Linked DNA regions of Homo sapiens: all the other regions are linked to region 1. The links are contacts of gene promoters, found by promoter capture Hi-C in blood cells and fetal thymus (Javierre and others, 2016). All regions are on one chromosome and are shown on one strand. Each heading gives the region's core, a stretch centred on a gene start or on the middle of the fragment in contact. The rest is flanking DNA. Distances are from core to core; before and after follow the strand shown. Region 1 overlaps LOC105374329 (a long non-coding RNA gene). Region 2 holds the start of POMC (proopiomelanocortin). Region 3 holds the start of EFR3B (EFR3 homolog B).

Region 1 (2,544 bases), core at 25-2,524:
CAACATGGTAAAACCCCATCACTATTAAAAATACAAAAACTGGCCAGGCACAGTGGCCTGTAACCCCAACACTTTGGGAGGCCGAGGCGGGTGGATCACGAGGTCAGGAGTTTGAGACCAGCCTGACCAACATGCTGAAACCCCGTCTCTACTAAAAACAAAAAAAATTAGCTGGGCATGGTGGTGTGCGCCTGTAATCCCAGCTGCTCAGAAGGCTGAGGCAGGAGAATCTCCTGAACCCGGGAGGCGGAGGATGTAGTGAGCAGAGATCAAGCCACTGCACTCCAGCCTGGGCGACAGAGCAAGACTCTGTCTCAAAAACAAACAAAACAAAACAAAAATTACACACATCTAAGTTCCAATCCAAGAATTCTGATTCAGTGCATCAAGTGTGGGGTGCCTTTGGCCAAACACTATGTTTTCAGGGTATACATTTCTCCTAATCCCTTCTTCCATCAATTCTGCTTTGTTAACAGGGAAAAAGTCGGTCATGGCTATTGGTTAGGCTGCCAAGATCTGTTCAATATTATACGGTTAAATTTGGATTTTTAAACTAATGAGGAAAAAATACTTGTGTTATTAAAGAGTGACCAGAGGAACTTTCTTCTCAAGTAGGAAAAAAAAATCCACTAACTATAAAGAAAATGATAAATTAAGCCACATTAAAATTAATAACTTTGGCTTGGCCCGGTGGCTCACGCCTGTAATCTCAGCCCTTTGGGAGGCCTAGGCAGGCAGATCACGAGGTTAGGAAATGGACACCATCCTGGCTAACACGGTGAGACCCCGTCTCTACTAAAAATACAAAATAAAATTAGCCAGGCATGGTGGCACTTGCCTGTAATCCCAGCTACTTGGGAGGCTGAGGTAGGAAAATTGCTTGAACCCGGGAGGTGGAGGTTGCAGTGAGCCAAGATCGCATCACTGCACTCCAGCCTGGGCGACAGAGCAAGACTCCATCTCAAAAAAAAATTAATTAATTAAATTAATAACTTCTGTCCATCACAAAACACCATGAAGAAGGTAGAAAGGTAAGCCATGGAATGGAAAATTATAGTTATATCAAATATTCTTGAGAAAGAACTTTAAAGAACTCTTACAAATTAATTTTAATTATTTGTATTTATTTATTTATTTTTGAGACAGGGTCTCACTCTATCGCCCAGGCTGGAGTGCAGTGGCTTGGTCTCAGCTCACTAACCTCCGCCTCCTGGGTTCAAGCAATTCTCCCACCTCAGCCTCCCAAGTAGCTGGAATCACAGGCATATGCCACCACACAGGCTGGGCGCGGTGGCTCACACCTGTAATCCTACCACTTTGGGAGGCCAAGGCAGGCAGATCATTTGAGGTCAGGAGTTTGAGACCAGCCTGGCCAAAATGGCGAAACCCCATCTCTGCTAAAAATACAAAAATTAGGCCCGGCGTGGTGACTCACATCTCTAATCCCAGCATTTTGGGAGGCCAAGGGGGGTGGATCACAAGGTCAGTTCAAGACCAGCCTGGCCAAGATGGTGAAACCCCGTCTCTAGTAAAAATACAAAAAATTAGCTGGCCATGGTGGCGGGGGCCTGTAATCCCAGCTACTCAGGAGGCTGAAGCAGAGAATTGCTTGAACCCAGGAGGCGGAGGTTGCAGTGAGCCGAGATTGCACCACTGCACTCCAGCCTGGGCGACAGACCGAGACTCTATCTCAAAAACAAACAAACGACAATTAGCCAGGTGTGGTGTCATGCACCTGTAGTCCCAGCTACTCGGGAGGCTGAGGCAGGAGAATCGCTTGAACCCAGGAGGTGGAGATTACAGTGAGCTGAGATGGTACCACTGCACTCCAGCCTGGGTGACAGAGCAAGACTCTGTCTCAAGAAAAAGAAAAAATTATGATTCTGCTGGGTATGGTGACATGTACCTATAGTACCAGCTATTCAGGAGGCTGAACAGGAGAATCACTTGAATCCAGGAGTTTGAGTCCAGCCTGGGCAACATAGTGAGACTCTGTCTCTAAACAAATAAATAAATAATTCCCTTGCCATCAACATTTTTAAACAAGAGATGTCTTCCCTGTGTGAATATTAAACTTTTAAATTAGTATGAATGTTAGATATTATAAACTATGTTTTACGTAAGTGGGGGAAGTTTAAAAAGCGGCTACTGTTAAGAGAGGGCATTGTTAATGCATTAACCAGGAATAGACTACGTTATGTTACAATAACAATCCCCCAATTGTATTGCTTTAACCTATTTATTTTCCACTCACACAAAGTTGGCTGCAGGTACTGTGGTCCTTCCAGACAGCTCCCTTCCAAGCATGAGTCACATCCAGGCCAGTTCGTTCCCTCTTCTGGTTATGCCATCTCCACATTTGGCCTCGGCTGTCATTGCGGCAAGAAAAGAGAGAGGAATCAAGAATGATAAAGTGCTCTTCTCTTTGTGCTTTGTCCCAGAAGTGACACATGTCATTTCCACTCACGGCTCATTTGTCAAAACGAGTCGCATAGGCCCTCCTAACTGCAAGGGAGCTGGGGAGTCTTGGGAGCACATGGATAT
Region 2 (2,544 bases), core at 32-2,531, 760 kb before region 1:
AGGAAGGATGTTCTAGTTGGGGGAACAGCTTGGACAATGGAGACCCAAGAAAGCCATGTTCTAGCAGTGTGAATGTTGTGGATGCTGAAGTGCCAGGATGCAAGGTGGAGAACTGGGAAATGGCCCTGGAAAGGGGCCAAAGCCGGGTGATGAAGCACCTTGTCTACTGTGACGGAGCTTGGATCTCTCTTGTGGTCCAAAGGGAAAGGATTGCTGAATGTAAAGCCAATGTCACCAGAAAAGCTGAATCCACAAGAGAGTCCTGGAGTCCAAAAGAGCATCTCATGGGGAATCAGGAAAGTTCTGGCATTTGGCAGATTAAGCAAGTGTCTTGATTTGAAGTCCAGTTTAGTCCCAATACTCCCTCCCACACCCACCACATCGCACAATTTGGTTTTGTTTATTTACTCCAGGTTAAGGTAGAGTCTCTTAGCTTGGTTTGAGTGCTGTACTCTTCTCTCTGGTCTGATATTTGGAACTAAAGCCAAGCCAGAACTCCAGGGCCAAGGGGGATGTTGAAAATTGTCTGAGTCCCCAGACCACCCTGCCAGCTCATGGCAAAGGGAGGGATCAGAGGCCACAGGGAAAGCACTTCAGCTGCTCTTCACAGCATCACCCTCTCCCCATTTAATGGTTTAGGTTAACAGGACTTTTTCCTTGAGGCTTGGGACACGGAAGGGAGCCTCCCCTAAACCAGGCCCTTGGAGAGCAGGCCCCAGGGGAGCAGTGCAACTCACCTTCACACCCACAAGACGGCTCCTGACTTCTGCTCCCTCCTCCCCTCCCCAAAGTGGAACAGAGAGAATATGATTCCCCACGACTTCCACATCACAGTTTCCAAACAATGGGGAAATCGGAGGCCTCCCCGTGTGCAGACGGTGATATTTACCGCCAAATGCGAACCAGGCAGATGCCAGCCCCAGCACGCACGCAGGTAACTTCACCCTCGCCTCAACGACCTCAGAGGCTGCCCGGCCTGCCCCACACGGGGGTGCTAAGCCTCCCGCCCGTTCTAAGCGGAGACCCAACGCCATCCATAATTAAGTTCTTCCTGAGGGCGAGCGGCCAGGTGCGCCTTCGGCAGGACAGTGCTAATTCCAGCCCCTTTCCAGCGCGTCTCCCCGCGCTCGTCCCCCGTCTGGAAGCCCCCCTCCCACGCCCCGCGGCCCCCCTTCCCCTGGCCCGGGGAGCTGCTCCTTGTGCTGCCGGGAAGGTCAAAGTCCCGCGCCCACCAGGAGAGCTCGGCAAGTATATAAGGACAGAGGAGCGCGGGACCAAGCGGCGGCGAAGGAGGGGAAGAAGAGCCGCGACCGAGAGAGGCCGCCGAGCGTCCCCGCCCTCAGAGAGCAGCCTCCCGAGACAGGTAAGGGCGCAGCGTGGGGGACCCGTGCTCTTTCCCCGGGATCCCCTGTCCCCGTCCTCGCGATGCAGTCGGCCGGCTCCGGCTCCGAAGGCGGACCTGGGCGCCTCTGGCTCTCCGCGGTCCCGAGTTCTCGACAAACTTTCTGCGCCGACTGCGGCATGAGAAGCCGCCAGTAGCTGAGCTGGAGGGCCCACGTCCGGCCCCTGGGCGGACGGCCGCGAAGCTGCAGGCGCTGTCTCCAGGGAGCCGGCGGCCTCCTCTCCCCCAGGGGCTCGCGGCGGTCCGGAGGCTCCGAGAGCTTGCTAGGAGGTCTTGGGACAACCCGGTCTTTTTTTTTTTTTTTGAGACGGAGTTTCGCTCTTGTTGCCCATGCTGGAGAGCAAAGGGGTGATCTCTGCTCACCGCAACCTTCGCCTCCCGGGTTCAAGCGATTCTCCTGCTTCAGCCTCCCGAGTAGCTGGGATTACAGGCATGCGCCACCACGCCCGGCTAATTTTTGTATTTTTAGTAGAGACGGAGTTTCTCCATGTTGGTCAGGCTGGTCTCAAACTCCCGACAACAGGTGATCCGCCCGCCTTGGCCCCCCAAAGTTCTGGCATTACAGGCGCGAGCCACCGCCCCCGGCCAGCCCGGTCTTTTAGTATCTCTTGCTCCCAGTTTCCAGGATAGGTGTCACATCTTGAAAGTCAAATTCCATACACGCTATCGCAAATTAATGTTGGAAACGGGGCAGCAGAGAAAAGGATAAAAGTCATAATGAACGCCCTGCCTTCCGGATTTTTTCGGATTCAGACCCCTGAATCCTTGTTTCCTTGCCCACCTTAGCGCACCCGAGGTGGCCGCGCTATGATAATTACATGATAACTGGGTCAATTACAATGCAGAATAGTTGGGTCTCTTCTCTCCAAGACCTAGCTGGGGTTAAAAACAGGTGGCCGGGGCGGGAGCTGTCCTAGATCCTGAAACGCACTGTCTAGTTTCGGATGCCCTCAACAGAACCGGGGTGGACGGTTTATGGCGCAGATCCTGGGTTGAGGGCACGGGCAGCCATTTGGAATGATCAAGGCTCAGGTAAGGGGCGTTTCCAGCGAAGGAGAGACAGTCCACTTGGCATTTGGATTCCCCAAATTCTTCATGTTTAAATGGGGCAGGGAGGGTTCTTACAGAATGGCTGGAAGGAG
Region 3 (2,544 bases), core at 30-2,529, 640 kb before region 1:
AAATTGGGAACGCACTCTTCTCCAAACACTGACCCCTCAAGTGCAGCCTGAGCCCCTACCTTGCAGTGGGGGTGGGAGGTGAGCACAGCTCCAATTATTTTGCTGGCACTAGAAGAGCTGCCAGAGACCTGGGTTTTCATGGACTTATGTCTACCGGGATCACACACACACGCACAGCCCTTGGTGGGCTGCAGGCTCAGGAATGCAGTCCATTCCTAGACTGGTCTAGGTCTCCAGTGCTCCATTCATCAGAGCTGCAATGTGGGACCCAACGCGCTCTCTCTTCTTCACCCACACTGCCTGCAAAACCAGAGGGAGTCCTAGCAAATGATCAAGCAGAGCCGTGCATCGTGAGGGTCTGGCTAACTGTTGCACGGCAGTTGAGGGGATGGCGGTGGAGGCGGGGAGAGGTCAGGGCTGTGCTGCACCCTCTCAGCAGCGTCTCCTCCCTTCATCACTGCGGAGGGAAAATCTGGAAGTTGGTGAACCTGGATCCCGCGGGGCGGCAGGGGCAGGCAGAGGCCGAGTCCATTCAGGCGGGCGAGACGAGACTCGGCCACTGGCTGCTCCCCGGGCCTCTGCGCCGCCGGCGCCGCCTCCCGCCTTCTCCGAGCCGCGCAGACGACCGGCCGCGGGCGTCTCCCTCAGCCCTGGACCGGCTTCCCACAGAAAACTCCCAGGCACAAACCGCTTTTGTTAATTCCGCAAATGCTGCCACACGACCACCTCCTCCAGCACTCCCGGTCTGCTCGGCTCCGGGAGACCCGCTTTCCCCTGAGCCTCCGCCCCCCGAAGGACCACCGCCCAGCACCGGCACGCGCCGGGCCTGGAGAGGACCCCAGGGTCCCCGGCCCGAGGCATCTTTGTCCTCGCAGCGCAGACGCGCGCGCACAGAGCGACCGCAACAGCCCCGCCGGGCACCAGGTCAGCGGCCTGGCCCCGCGCCAGGGCCGTGCAGGGGGACAATGGTCCGCGCCGGGGAAGTTTGCGGAGTCGCCCCCGCGGGCCCGGGCCCGGGCGCGGAGCCCTCCTTACCGTACATCTCGGCGGGGCGCGCGCCTCTCGAGAGGCCGGCGTCGCTGCGGCGTTCCCAGCCAGCCCTCGGCGGCGCCCGCCTTTCATTCACAGTCGGGGCGGGGACTGGCGGCGGCCGACAGGGGCCCGGGCGGGGAGGGAGCAGACGCGGGGGCCGGCCGCGGGCAGGACGGAGCCGGGCGCCGCCAGCCCATTCAGCGCCGGGCTGCAGCGGCCGCCTCCGCTCGGGTTGCTGGGCACTGCTGCGCGCAGGGGGCGGGGGCTATGCTAATACTAATGCTCCTCCCTCCCGGCTCGGCCAACCCGAGGCCTCTGCGAGCCCCTCGCCCCGCCCCGCCCCTGCGCCCCGCCCCCGAGAAACCCACAGCCGGAGATGCGCCTTTTCCGAGGCTGTCGCCCTAAGGGCCGCAGCGTGCACCTGCGGAGCTACCCACCCCAACTCCCTGCTCCTGTCGGAGCGCTCGGAAGCTCTCCCTAACCTGGGGTCCTCGAGGTCAGCCGGGGCGCTGAGAGCTGCAGGTGCACCCCTCCTCCAGTTCTGTCCAGGCTGCGTGGGCTAAGCCGGGGGGCGCAAGGATGGGAATTGGGGAATGACTTCCACCCTCTCCTGGCTAGGTACCTTAGCTGAGCGCCGTTCTCTGATGAAGCCCTCCAGCCCTCAGCTGCGCCCTACCAGCTACTCTCTGGCTAGGTGCCCAGCCACTCTCTGGCTAGGTGCTTGCTACCACCAAACAGCGTCCTTCCCGGGTCAGGGACGCAGGAAACGCACCCCACTCCCAACCCCCAAGGGCTGCAGGAAGTCCGCTTGCTTTTCCTCTCCCTGATTTATATGTGTAATTCGCAAGCTTTGCCGCCAGGATCCTCTCCAGCTGAGCCCCAGCGCCGACTTGAATTCCAGCTCTGCACCTGCCGTGACCCTATGAGGAACAGGCACAGAGAGGCAGCGGCTCATGCCTACGCCCACACCTGAAGATCTCTCCTAAGCTAGCTCAGGACTTCCCTGGGCTTCTCATCCAGCCTTCTTTACATTGCACACGTTCCCGTCTTTTTTTTTTTTTTTTTTTTTTTTTTTTTTTTTTTTGACATGGAGTCTCACTCTCGCCCAGGGTGGAGTACAGTGGCACTATCTCGGCTCCCTGCAAACTCCGCCTCCTGGGTTCAAGCGATTCTTCCACCTCAGCCTCCAGAGTAGCTGGGACTACAGGTGCGTGCCACCACGCCCGGCTAATTTTTGTATTTTTTGGTAGAGAAGGGATTTCACCATGTTGGCCAGGCTGGTCTGGAACTCCTGACCTCAAGTGATCCGCCCGCCTCGGCCTCCCAAAGTGCTGAGATTACAGGCCTGAGCCACTTCTCCTGCCCCTCCTGGCCTTTCAATATCGATTTCTTAGTTTCTCTTGGCCCATGGTTGAGAGTTGTTTGGGTTTTCTTTTGTTTTTTTCTACTGGTAGAAATATTCTACTAGTAGAAGTTAGAGAGGAAAGGAACTTAAAGATACTTAAGAACTGA

The links. The method cuts DNA at HindIII sites, captures the fragments that hold promoters and counts their contacts. A CHiCAGO score of 5 or more calls a contact.
Region 2: the fragment with the promoter of POMC here is called in contact with a fragment that was not itself captured in region 1 in 1 of 17 cell types (naive B cells); the score reaches 6.4 in naive B cells.
Region 3: the fragment with the promoter of EFR3B here is called in contact with a fragment that was not itself captured in region 1 in 1 of 17 cell types (fetal thymus); the score reaches 5.3 in fetal thymus.

Annotation. Positions count from the first base shown.
Region 1 is chr2:24,404,587-24,407,130 of GRCh38, reverse strand. LOC105374329 (a long non-coding RNA gene) reads right to left here. Exons shown (of 3, transcript XR_001739340.3): 2 at 2,255-2,369. Among named protein-coding and RNA genes, the nearest start is that of ITSN2, 45 kb to the right of the region's middle. The HindIII fragment of the contact is 6,674 bases long and covers 1-2,544 here.
Region 2 is chr2:25,167,317-25,169,860 of GRCh38, reverse strand. POMC (proopiomelanocortin) reads left to right here and starts at 1,281. Exons shown (of 3, transcript NM_000939.4): 1 at 1,281-1,363. RefSeq lists cis regulatory regions at 979-1,004, 1,005-1,178, 1,244-1,256, an enhancer at 1,165-1,184 and a promoter at 595-1,407. The HindIII fragment of the contact is 11,223 bases long and covers 1-2,544 here.
Region 3 is chr2:25,040,811-25,043,354 of GRCh38, reverse strand. It overlaps EFR3B (EFR3 homolog B), which reads right to left and starts at 1,279. Exons shown (of 23, transcript NM_014971.2): 1 at 1,036-1,279. The coding sequence starts at 1,042. RefSeq lists silencers at 1-15, 346-475, 586-665, 796-1,415 and enhancers at 373-1,321, 1,322-2,271. The HindIII fragment of the contact is 2,761 bases long and covers 1-1,882 here.